Linked DNA regions of Homo sapiens: regions 2 and 3 are each linked to region 1. Evidence: promoter capture Hi-C in 16 types of primary human blood cells and fetal thymus (Javierre and others, 2016). All regions are on one chromosome and are shown on one strand. Each heading gives the region's core, a stretch centred on a gene start or on the middle of the fragment in contact. The rest is flanking DNA. Distances are from core to core; before and after follow the strand shown. Region 1 holds the start of C1QA (complement C1q A chain). Region 2 overlaps LOC105376845 (a long non-coding RNA gene). Region 3 has its middle 31 kb from the start of LACTBL1.

Region 1 (4,290 bases), core at 1-2,500:
AGACGGACTCCTGATTCTCAGTGCCACCCCAAGCCTTCACCCTGGAGGCCAAGTCAGGCCAAGGTCCAAGGGGCTGGGTCCCGAGGAAGGGTGCTTACCCGGCTCCCCTTGCTCCCCCTTGAGGCCTGGCCGCCCCCGTCTGCCAGGTCTTCCTGCCTCCCCTTTCTTCCCGTCTGGTGCTCGGCACAAGTCCTCGGTCACCATAGAGGCCAGCGATATGGCCAGCACACAGAGCACCAGCCATCCCCGGGGACCCTCCATGATGCCTCTGTGGAGACACGGGAGGGCCTGGGCAGGTTGGACATCACACTCACACCCAGCTCCCACCCTTGAGTCCCATGCACACAATGATATATGCACAGTCCTCCCCAAGTGCACATGCACCCTCTGGGGCTCTCAATGTCCACTCTCAATCCAGCCCCAGGACCCCACGCATATACACAGAACCACAAACTCACACACATCCACACATGCAACAGAGCACACCCACATCTTCACACACTCACACAAACACAGCTCTCATCCACGCACCTACAAAACACAGTAGGCAAACTCAGAAATCCACTATACCCCCCTAGACACACAACTGATACCCAAATAGACCCTGTCCCTCACTTGCACGGACACACACATTCATACACTCCCACAGGTAATCGATTTCATTGAACAAATATGTATTGAGCGCCTGCTCCTTATTTAATTAACACTGGCTCACCCAGATGGTGGAGCTCTGCATACACACAGGAATTCACAAACGCCCAAAGCGACACCTGCTCACTCTTCTGCATGCTCAGCGCCTTTCAGCATCCACCTGAGCATGGGTGACTGGCTGCCCCTACAGTCCCCTCTGCTGGGTCCCACTGCCAGCTCTAGCACCCCAGGCTTTTCCTGGTTTCTTATGTGTTATGGGGCCAGGACCCAGGAACCCTGGTCTTACCCTTCAGTTGTTAGGTCTAACTCATCGCCTCTCACCCTCCCCCAAGCCCTGGCTCAAGGAGTTAAGGTCCCTCCACTCACCCATTCTGGGTCCTGGATCAGTGCTGCACCCCCATCCCTGTCCTAGAATCAGGCACAGTTATTTCCCTCCCTCCCTGCCTCAGCTGCCCAGCCTCCTGGGCCAGCTCCCCTGGGTCCCAGAACTCTGCAGCCCCCTCCCTCTGGGACTCTGGCCTCACCTGCCTCCTGTTGTCAACTCCAACTGGATGCTCCTGCCCTCCGCCCAGGGACCCTGTGGGCTGCCCAGCAGGAGTGGCTCCAGGCTGTGGCCAAGTTTCACATCCCTTCCTACTTCCCCTTCTTCAGACCTGCCCCCTGAACTTCCCCAGTGGCCAGAAGCTCACCAGGGACATTTCAAGCAGACTTCAGCAAGACTGGGACATTGGGCGTCCTGCCCCAGCAACAGCTGGTGTGGGAGTGGGGGCAGTGAGGCCAGTGCCTGTGAGGATGTGGGGTGGAGGCCGTGCAGGGTGAGGTTCTGAGAACCAGCGAAGCACAGAACACCAGAGCGGAAGGAATCTTTAAAAAAATCTGTCCCTTGTAGGACTTTTCATGATTATGAAAGTGACATGCAATTCATTGCCAAAAGCTTGGAAAATACAAAGAAGAAAGAACAGTGCATTGGTGAGAAGGAAGCACAGCAATCTGTTTCTAGACTTGCTGCTTCCTAGTTGCATGTCTTTGGGAAATTACTTGACCTCCTGAGCCCTCAGTTTTATCTGTACACTGGGAACGGGGTCCTATATCATCTGATTATTATAACATTTTAATGACTTGCACATACAAAACACTTGGCACATGGTGAACACTTAGTCACTAGCTTTTGCCAACATTTAAAAAAACAGCAAGTCTAGGTGCTTTGGCTCACGCCTGTAATCCCAGCATTTTGGGAGGTCAAGGCAGGCGGATCACTTGAGGTCAGGAGTTCGAGACCAGCCTGGCCAACATGGTGAAACTCCATCTCTACTAAAAATTTAAAAAATAGCCAGGTGTGGTAGCATGCACCTGTGTAGTCCCAGCTATTTGGGAGGCTGAGCTGGGAGGATTGCTAGAGCCCAGGAGGTTGAGGCTGCAGTGAGCTTTGATCTTACCACTGCACTCCTGCCTGGGAGACAGAACAAGACCCCATCTCAAAAAAAAAAAAAAAAAAAAGAGATGGCAATGGCGGGCCGTCTGGAATGGCTGCTGTCATCACACTGGCTGCAGCAGGGAGGCACGGCCAGGGCTGCATGCTCCATGTAGCCAGTGGGAGCTGGGGACAGTGGGAACCCCGCCCTCCTGGGAACCACTGCAGCTGCCAAACCACAGCTGATCCTGCTTCATGGAGCAGGTGGGGGCCCCCGCCATCCCCCATGCAGCTGCAGCTGCCTAAACTGCAGCTGTGGACCCAGGCATCCCTGCAATCTTGGGGGCCCGGGAAGGCCCCCCGCCCCACCCTTCAGGCTCAGAAGTGTCTGCTCCCACTGCCTGGCTTCTCCCTCCTCTTGGCGCCCACTCTGATCTTAGAGCAAAGTTGGTGCTGAGCCTGGGTGCTGTCGCAGCCTGGCTGGGTGTGGGCATGCTTGGGGCAGTGCTGACACACTAGACCCCTGCTGCCTTGGCCCCCTCTGGACTTTGGGCACTGACTAGCATGGAAGGAAAGCCAAGGGGAAACTGAGGGCAGCTCGGCACTGGCCTGCAGACGCTCCTTGGCATGAACAGCCTGGGCACCATGAACAGCAGCAGGAGACAGACAGGCTCCTGGGTGGAAGGGGATGGGTCCCTGGTGAGGCCCTACCTTCAAGCCAGGGAGGGCCTCAAGGCTGGGGGCCAGGCTGCCAGTCCCACACACCAGAGTGGGAACTTATGGTGTATTTTCTGGGCTTGCCTATAGCCACCCATGGACCAATCAGTATGCACTTCCTCCTCTCTGAGGCTCATGAAAGCTTCAGGCTCAGCCAGAGCTGGGCAGACATTGGATGACCAGCTGCCGAGAGGAGCTACCCGCTCCAGGGCCTCCTCTCTGCTGAGAGCTGCAGAGATGGCAGAACAACTTGCCTGCAGAAAGGAGCTTCCCATTCCAGGGTCTTCCCTCTTCTGAGAGCTGGAAAGTCGACAGGATGACCTGCCTGCAGAGAGGAGCTTCCCATTCCAGGGTCTCCTCTCTGCTAGCAGCTGAACACTCATCAGGACACCCTGGCTGTGGAAAGGAGCTGCCCCCTGAGGGAGGCTCTGCAGGAGGCTGAGCTGTTCTATCGCTCAGTAAAGCTCCTCTTCGTCTTGCTCACTCCCCACTTGTCTGCATACCTCATTCTTCCTGGTTGCAGGATAAGAACTTGGGACCCATCAAATGGTGGGGCTGAAAGAGCTGTAACACAAACAAGGCTGAAACATGCCCCTTGCTTGCCATGATGCAGGTGAAGGGAAGGAAAGAAGAGCTGCGGCCCTCTGGGGAACCCAGACCTGGGAGCTCCCCAAGCTGGAGCTGTGACTCCCTTTTCGGGGCCCTGTGGTTCCTGGCATCTCGAAGCTTCTGGGTGCCACCGTGTTCCCCGGTGCCAGCTGTGGAAGCTGCTTGTGGTGTACTTGGTCTAGCCACAACCTCTCAGAGAGCTGGCGCCCATGCTGGCACCTGGAGCTGCTCACCCCGCTGCAGCAGCCGGCATGTCTGACTGTGTGCAGTGGCCAGACCCCATGTTCACTCACACACCCTTCACTGTTCCATGCCTGACTTGCCCTGGGCAGATGTGGAACCCAGGCTGGTAATGTGAGCTGAGTGCTGCCTGCCAGGAGGAGTGAGTGAAACAAGCCCAGTGGGCCTGAGCAAAACTTGGGCAAAGGTGCCACCAGCCACAGAGGTTTCCGGCCAGAAAATGACACCCCAAAGATCCTGTAACACCATCTCAAAAAAAAACAAAAAACAAAACCCAGCAACAAAAGCCTGTGAATTCTACCATCTAGAGACAATTGCTGCTAGTGTTTGAACAGATCATCTAGCCTTACTCACCTTAACTGATGGGATGCTCATTACCTGTCAGCACGGCACACTGCATCATTGTCAGCTTGGACCCTGAGAATGCTTTTCTTTAGATAGAGAGGCTCTGTCTCTCCCAGACTGGAGACCAATGTGTTCAGGCCTGGGCTGACCACATCTGTCTGCTTCTTCTCATGAGCATGTTTTTGTTTGTTTGTTTGTTTTCTGAAAATTTTGCCAGAGGCAGGAGGAGGAAAAGAGGAGGAGGAGGGAGGAGATAAGGGAAGGCTGTTGAAGTGGGCAGATGAAGGATGGTCTAGAGCCAGGGTTTTTGAGCTTTG
Region 2 (4,290 bases), core at 863-3,362, 480 kb after region 1:
CTGGAAGGAGGAGAGCCTGGATATCTCGCTGCCACACAAACCGTGTCCCATTCCAGCTGCCTGGAGCACTGTCCCCCAGTCAGTGGGGTGGGGACTGGGCAGGGAGGGGAGACAGCAGAAAGACCCTGGCCCCATGGCCTCATTGCAGAGATCCCAGTGGCCTGCAAAGATATCCTCCCTCCCCAGCTCCCTGGCTCGGCTCGCTGTGGGTAGAGACTTCACCATCAGCCAGAGACCAAGTCTCCCAGCTGGGGCTGGAGCATGAGTCTTGTCCTGAACCACTCTCAGATGGATCCTTGCTCCCAGCTCTGCCCCCAGGGCCTAAAATGCTCTCTAGAGATCATCAAGTCCAACCCTTTCGTTTACAGAGAAGAACGCAGGCTCAGAGAGCATGCGCCGGATTCCCACAGCATTGTTGGTAAAGGGCAGAGCAGGGTCTCTAGTGACCCTGTCCAGAGTCCCTTCCACCCTCCAGCTGCAGACAGGGACCTTCTGAACGGAATGCAAGAGACGGGATAAAATGCCTGCCCTTCCCCTGGCCAAAGTCTCACTGCTGAGCTTGAAGGGGTCCTCAGGGGCAGCTGGGGCCTTGGGCCCTCTCCCACTGCTACAGGGGCCCCTTCTCACCTGCAGGGGAAGGAGCACTGGATTTGAAGTCAGACAGTCCTGTGTTCATGTCACGTCCTGACTGAGTGTCCTGGCCAAGACACCTCACTGGACCTCAATTTCCTGATCTGTAAAATAGGGACAATGATACCTGCCCTGCCTAATTCACTGGACTCATGAGAAGCTATGGGAAGATTTCTCCCATTGCGACATATTCTACAAGTGTGTATAAGGCAATGTTTTCATCCCCTTCTGCCCAGCCAGCCTGACCAGCCCTGGGTCCCCAGAGGCTCGCACAAGTTCTGCACAGAGGTGTATTCAGGGACTGTTTTGATGAACTGAATATATTAATATATGTTCTTTTTTTTTTTCTTTTTTTTTTTTTGAGACAGAGTCTCTCTCTGTCGCCCAGGCTGGAGTGCAGTGGCGTGATCTCGGCTCACTACAACCTCCGCCTCCCGGGTTCAAGCGATTCCCCTGCCTCAGCCTCCTGAGTAGCTGGGATTACAGGTGCCTACCACCACGCCCGGCTAATTTTTGTATTTTTAGTAGAGACAGGGTTTCACCATGTTGGCCAGGATGGTCTTGATCTCCTGACCTCGTGATCCACCCACTTCAGCCTCCCAAAGTGCTGGTATGTTCTTAATTCATCTCATCAGGTAGCAGCCAACTTCAAGGCCAGTGGTGTGGATAACAAAGTCCCTCGGTCCTACGAGGAGCCCAAGCACATCTGTCACAGATACAGGAGCCCGAGCGGTCGCAGTCCACGCTAGGCGCTCGGTGCTCGCTCGTCTCAGTATAATTTGGTTCATGGATTTCTAGCCCATCTCCCCCACCAGCCTGTGCACTCCATGGATGCAGGAAATGGGTCTGGCTGGTTTTCTGCTAAATCCCCAGCACCTGGGCTGGGGCCTGACATGTGGCAGATCTTCAGTGAATATTTATTGTCGGAATGAAGGATCTTGTGGATCTGGCTCTGTTCCTTCCAGCAGTGCCACCTCTCTGCGCCTCGGATTCTTTATCTGTAAGAGGTGAGGAGGTGGGAAAATCAGCTGAGATAACGAAGAACTCAGATAACAGTTTACAAAGCCCTTGGGTCACCAAAAGGCTCGCAGTGGGCCTGGCTGCTATTATCACCATTATCATCACTACCATACTGCAGAGATGAGACAAATCCCATAGCAGCTGCAGAGGGCTGGGGGAGGGCTCCAGCCGGGCCCCAACTTTGTCCTGAAATACCACACACATTGCAAGTCCAGTGCCAGACCCATGGTTCCATTTCAGCCTCCAGACAGTGGTTCTTCTCCCCATATTTTGGAAGAAGAAATGAAGAAATTGAGACTCAGGGCAACGAGAGAACTCGCCCAGGTCACACAGCGCCTAAGCACTTGATCATTTCCTGAGTGTCTCCAGGGTGCCTGTCCCTGTGCCAGCAGCGACACATGCCCTGCCTCATTTTATCATGCCCATCTTACAGGTGAAGAAATTGAGGCCCACGGAAGTCACAGGGCTTGCCCAAGAACCACAGCCAGTTAATAGCAAAGAAGCATCTCCCGCCCCCACTCGGGCCTCAGCCTCAGTTCCCGGTGCCCACTCCACCCCCAGGAGGCTGGGATCTGAGCAGGGCCCTGGCCACCCTCTGCCACTCCGGAAGTGCCCTGTGTCTGTACCTTGATCTCCACACCCACGGTGCCAGGAAACCCCAGCAGGGGCGGCAAACTGCGGGATATTTATAGCGAGCGTGCAGAAAGCTGCCACCCCCATCTGTTTACCCAACAACGCACTTCTCGCTGGCCACTTACAGCCCCGCCAGCCACAGACAGACCCTCTCGGTCGCCTCATCTATTTTTTCCTCCCCACTTAATTTTGCATCATCCCAGCTTCCAAAATAAACTTCCCCAAACCAGCCAGGCTCATTCTGGCCCAGAATCCCTGCCCAAGAGCCCCCTTCAGCCCCTGCCCCCACATCAGCCCATACAGCAGAACCACCAAACCCAACCCGGCCCCTTGGCTGCCTTTGGCCTTGATTTAGAAGCAGCTGCTCCTGCCCCGGCGGGTTTCCGACAAGGCAGTGCCGGGGCGTCTGCCTCTGTGGGGATACCGGCTGGGCTTCTGTGTGCATAGTTGCTGGTAGGAGGCTGAAGATACTGCCCCCTGTGCCCCATCCACCTCCCCAACACACATTCACACACACATGTATGCACACACACACATATACGCAGAGCCCCACAAGCGTCAGCCTCCTCCAAGGCTTCTCTTCCCTCGTTCCCTGGCCCAAGCTGGCCTCTTCCAGCTTTGCACGTGGCCCAGCCTCTCCTCACCTGCCCAGCCACCACTCTGAACTTTTCCTTCCTCAGTCCCACCCTGCCATCTCACCTCCAGGCCTTTGGACATGCTCTTTCCTTAGCCTAGAACACTAGAACAGTTTCCCCTCACCACCTGCCAAGCTCACCTTCCCAATCCCTCAGGCCTAAACTCTAGGTCACCTCTTCCAGGAAATTCCCTGTCCAGCGTAGGGGAGCAGGTCTGTCCTGGGCCATCCTACCTTCCACCAGCCCAAGAGAGAGTTCTAAGTCACACCTAGGGTGGAATGCAGCCCCCACCCCAGTTCTCCATGAATTTCTCAGCCCAGCCCTGGCCCTGCACACATAAGCAAACCAGCTCTCTCATCCCCAGGAGAAAGGACTCCTTCACCCCAGGACCAGAGAGGATCATTCAGCCCAACCACCAGTTGCAGAAGCTAGGGACGCCTCAACCATTCCAGAATTACCATTCCAACTTCATGTTCAATCCCTTGAGTTGCAGCTTTTTCAGGCTACTAATTCACAAGCCCATTTATTTCTTCTAAGTTTTTTTGCAAAGGTTGAGGATAGGAAAGGAATGAATGTTATGTCTATTCCCATTTAAAAGAAAGATACTCGTAGGCCCATTTTTGGATAAAGAAACTATAGCTTAGAGAATCCCGCTTCAATTATTCATTCAGCACTCATGCACTGAGCTCTCACCACATCCCAGGCACATCACAGCACCAGGGGCACAGCAGTGGGCAAAACAGCCACAGTCCCTGCCCTCCTGGAGGCCCCAAGCTGCGGGAAAAGACGCATTCAACAGATGATTGCGCCAATAACTATTGAATAACCATTTGTATTACGTTGACAGTGTTTCAAAGCTCAGGACTAAGACAGAATATGTAATCAGAAGCCCACAGAAGCCTTCTCAGACCTGTTATGGAAGTTGAGACCTGCAGCAAATTAGTCCACTAAAGAGCAAGTTGAGACCAGGCACAGTGGCTTACACCTATAATCCCCGCACTTTGGGAGGCCGAGGCAGGGGGATCACTTGAGCTCAGGCGTTCGAGACCAGCCTGGCCAACATGGTGAAACTCCAACTCTACTAAAAATACAAAAATTAGCCAGGCGTGGTGGCATGGCCCTATAGTCCCAAGCTACTCAGGAGGCTGAGGCAGGAGAATCGCTTGAACCCAGAAGGCGGAGGTTGCAGTGAGCCAAGATGATGCCACTGTACTCCAGCCTGGGCAACAGAACAAGACTCTGTCTCAAAAAGAAAAAAAAAAAAAAAAAGCCAGTGGAGGGGCATTCCCAGCAGGAGAAACAGCACATGGAAAGGCCTGGAGAGACCTCTTGACCTCCCAAAGTGCTGGGATTACAGGCACACGCCACCGCG
Region 3 (4,290 bases), core at 897-3,396, 310 kb before region 1:
GGCCATGGGACATTTTAAGGTCCCAAGGTCTTGAGTTAATTCTCCAAGTCCAATTCCCTGTTTTTCTTGAACAAATAAATCAAAAGGTTGGTGTAGGTCAGGGAGACTCAGGGCAGGGGCTGTCATCAATTTCTCTTTAATGGTTAGAAAGGCATTTTGGCATTCTCTACTCCAAGAAAGGGGTTCCCTTTCTTCTTCTTTTAAAGTCTCCTAGAGAGGTTTGGCTATTAACCTGAAGTTAGGGATCTAAATTTGACAAAATCCAGGCATCCCTAAAGGACCACGTAGTTGTTTAAGGATACTGGAGACTGCCACCTGATTTATTGCCTCTGTGATCTGGGAGAAGATTGTGAGTCCCTTGAATCCCAGGTACTGAATGGTGGGATGAGAGATCTATGCCTCTTTCTTAGAAACCTTGTACCCTTTATCTGCCAGGAAATTTAAGACTTTGATGGCATGGAGGATGGAGTTACCCTCCATTTCACTGGCTATCAAGATATCATCTGCGTATTACAAAATAGTTCACATTAATTAACATGGAATTCTTAGGACTGTCGGATCTACATCTGTATATTTGTTTTCTTTTCTTTCTTTCTTTTCTTTTTCTTTTTCTTTTTTTTTTTTTTTGAGACAGAGTCTCGTTCTGTCACCCAGGCTGGAGTGCAGTGGTGCGATCTCGGCTCACTGCAACCTCTGCCTTCTGGGTTCAAGAGATTCTCCTGCCACAGCCTCCTGAGTAGCTAGGACTGCAGGCGTGCACCACCATGCCCAGCTAATTTTTTGTATTTTTAGTAGAGACGGGGTTTCACCATGCTGGCCAGGTTTGTCTCGAACTCCTGACCTCAAGCAATCCACCTGCCTTGACCTCCCTAAGTGCTGGGATTACAGGTGTGAGCCTCTGTGCCCGGCCTACATCTGTATATTTCTGATAAGCCTCCAAAATTCTTTCCAAAATGCTAATGGGTTCTCATCCACTTCTTGTCTAGATATAGTCATGGGAAATCAAAATTTGACCTCCCCCCAAAAAATAATAATAAAACAAAATTCAACCCCAGAATGCAGCCTGCTTGAGTAAATTATTCAAAATTGATAAATTATATCTTACAACTAGTTTCATTTTGCTATCAAATGGGAAAGTAGGATGAAATCCCTGATGTCTAAGCTTTTATACTCCTTTATCAGAACAAACCAATCAAGTTAAATGTAAAATTCTGATGCAATGGATGGAGGCTTTTAAGAAGGGTGGTGAGTCTGCACTTTTCCCTATGATCCCCATGTCACCAGCAAAGAAGAATTCTCCTTAGAGCCTACTACAACTTCTATAACCCCAGCCCAGCCATCTCAGCACTCTCCACCAGCTGCCTTGGGGTCAGCTTCAGCCTCTTTGATGGCCCCAACCCCTGAGACTTCCAAACCCTGCAAAACCCTTTCCTGACTCCTGCTAGCCCTCTCACTTATGGACCCAGGACCCGTACCTGAGTTCTGCCAGGTCTTCCCCCATATTTTCCTTTGCTCTCTCCTTTCACCAAGGAGACATCTGGGAACTCCAGAGAAATGGTCTCATCCTCTTGGACCCATCAGGGGACACAATTTGGCTGGGTTCTGCTACCCTTCTCTACAGGGCAGTTCCCTCTGAGACAGGTCCCTGTTGGGGGTTTAGCTGAAGAAGGACAGCCCGCTGGAATGATGCAAACTTACATAATTGTAAGCAGACCAAACCTGCTTATAGGGATGACCTGAAATGTATAACTAACCTCTTTGAGTCTATTTTCATGACTCATGGCCCTACATGGGCTGATGTTCAGAGCCTCCTTAAAGTCTTGCTGACATCTGAAGAGTGTCATACAGTGCTAGAAAAGGCTCAGGAAAAGGCTGATCGGTTACACACAGAAGATCCTAATAATGGGGTGAGGACTGGTTACAGTCTGGCAGTGCCCCTCCATGACCCCAGCTGGAAGCTGATCAACAGGGGTTCTGGACTGTTTTCTGGTGGGGCTCAGGAAGGGAGTCCCTCAAACCAAAAGTTTAAAGAAGGTGCAGGAAATAGACACACACGTACACACATGCGCACGTGCGCGCACACACACACACACACACACACACACACAAACACTTATCAAAATACAATCTAGGCCGGGTGTGGTGGCTCATGCCTATAATCTCAGCACTTTGGGAGGCCAAGGCAGGTGGATTACTTGAGGTCAGGAGTTCGAGACCAGTCTGGCCAACATGGCGAAACCCTGTCTCTATTAAAAATACAAAAATTAGCTGGGTATGGTGGTGCATGCCTGTGGTCCAAACTACTTGAGAGGCTGAGGCAGGAGAATCACTTGAACCCAGGAGGTGGAGGTTGCAGTGAGCCAAGATCACGCCACTGCACTCAAGCCTGGGTGACAGACTGAAACTCAGTCTCAAACCAAAACAGAACAAAAATCAATCTAACTGCAGTAGTGATTAACAAGCCCCCAAAGTGTCTGAACTGAAATAGAGTGCTTTCCACTCTCACATTAGTGGGTTGGGCTTGTTTAACCTGCAACAAATGGAAATTCTTCAGAATTTCCCAATTTGACAGGAGCAGCTCCTACTGTCTAGTACCCACAAAGGACACTCACCTGTCCAGATGCAGATGTCAAATTTCAAAGAATATTCTTCCTAGGCAATCAGGACTGCAGTTGGGGCCAAAGAGAGAGAGACTGAAACCTCTGGCCAAATATGGCTGGGCATCTGCTAGAAGGGTTTTCAAAACTCTCCCAGCCTGTGGCTGCCAAGTCACAAGCAATGCAATCCAAGTCAGGACACCAGAATTTTGTTGCTGAATGCCAGGGGTTTGACCTAGGTCCAGTTCTCACCCACAGAAAGCCAATCACTGAGACAACGAGTATTGCCAAGGAAGAAAGGCTTTATTGTGGGTGATGTCAGCCAGGAGATGAGAGACAAGTCTCAAATCTCTCTCCCCAACCAACTAAAGTTAGGGGTTTATATAGGAGTTGGTCAACAGGCATCAGGGAGTCAGATAAGGGGTCTGGCACCTCACCGTCCAGATGCAGTGATGTGGAAAGTTTCAGCTCCCTGATAGCCAATTTCCTGTGAAAGGAACTCAGATAAGAAAAATGTAAGTTTCTCAAGCTTCAAGACTGGAAGGGTCAATTTCTATCTTATTAAAAACACTTGTAAACATCAGTTCTGAGAAAATTGGGTCTGTTCAATGGTATATAATTGTTTTGATATGTTGCTGACTTCTATTTGCTAATATTTTGTTAAGAATTTTTGCATCTATACTCATGAGGAATATTGGTCTGTAGTTTTCTTTCTTTTTTTGTATATTATCTTTGTTTGGTTTTGGTATCAGGATAATATTAGCTTCATAAAATGAATTGGGAAGTGTTTCTGCCTCTTCTATTTTCTGGAAGAGATTGTGTAGATGGTATTAATTCTTCTCTAAACACTTGGTAGTATTCTCCAGTGAAACTACCTGGCTCTGGAGATTTTCTTTTTTGGTAATTAAAAAACATTGTTAATTCAATTTCCTAAATGGTTATGGGGCTATTCAATATGAGCAAGTTGTGGTAGTTTTGGCTTTTCCCAGAATTGGTCTATTTCATCAAAATTGTTGAATTTATGTCTGTAGAGTTATACATAGTGTTCTCTTATTATTTTTTTGATATCTGCAGGGCCTAAAGTGACATCCCGTTTCATTCTTCATATTGATAATTTATATCTTCTCTCTTTTTTCCTGTTAGTCTTTCTAGAAGTTTGTCAATTTTGAAACAGTGAAGCAAACCAGTTTTTTGTTTCATTGGTTTTCTTTCTTGCTTTTCTGTTTTTAATGTTATGCTGTTATTTTATTATTTCAATCTTCTGCTTGCTTTGAGTTTATTGTGTTCCTTTTTTCCTAGATTTTTTTTTCTGGATTCTTGACATGGGAACTTAGATTATTGATTTGATAATGCAATTACTGTTTGTTTTAGGCCAGTAAATATTGAAGTTCTTTATTACACGACAAGAGAAAGCTGGAACAGTTATGAGGTACCCAACCGAAATTGAGTCATGAACAGCACTGATGTAAACTGCACTGAGCCTTTGCATTTATGAGTGTGGAGCAGGATAATATATCAAGAATTAGGCCAGACACAATGGCATATGTCTGTAATCCCAGCACTTTGACAGGCCAAGGCCCAGGAGTTTGAGACCAGCCTAGGCCACATAGTGAGACCCTGTGTCTAGAAAATTAAAAAAAAATTTAGCTGGGTGTGGTGATGCACACCTGTGGTCCCAGCTATTAGGAAGTCT

The links. The method cuts DNA at HindIII sites, captures the fragments that hold promoters and counts their contacts. A CHiCAGO score of 5 or more calls a contact.
Region 2: a fragment that was not itself captured here is called in contact with the fragment with the promoter of C1QA in region 1 in 1 of 17 cell types (erythroblasts); the score reaches 6.8 in erythroblasts.
Region 3: a fragment that was not itself captured here is called in contact with the fragment with the promoter of C1QA in region 1 in 1 of 17 cell types (endothelial precursors); the score reaches 5.2 in endothelial precursors.

What each region holds. Positions count from the first base shown.
Region 1 is chr1:22,633,588-22,637,877 of GRCh38, reverse strand. C1QA (complement C1q A chain) reads right to left here and starts at 1,250. Exons shown (of 3, transcript NM_015991.4): 1 at 1,176-1,250; 2 at 99-268. The coding sequence starts at 261. The HindIII fragment of the contact is 10,061 bases long and covers 1-1,587 here.
Region 2 is chr1:22,152,241-22,156,530 of GRCh38, reverse strand. It overlaps LOC105376845 (a long non-coding RNA gene), which reads right to left. Exons shown (of 5, transcript XR_947050.1): 2 at 1,205-1,628; 3 at 628-734; 4 at 1-94. Among named protein-coding and RNA genes, the nearest start is that of WNT4, 11 kb to the right of the region's middle. The HindIII fragment of the contact is 5,397 bases long and covers 1-4,290 here.
Region 3 is chr1:22,940,192-22,944,481 of GRCh38, reverse strand. No RefSeq gene overlaps it. Among named protein-coding and RNA genes, the nearest start is that of LACTBL1, 31 kb to the left of the region's middle. The HindIII fragment of the contact is 1,964 bases long and covers 1,165-3,128 here.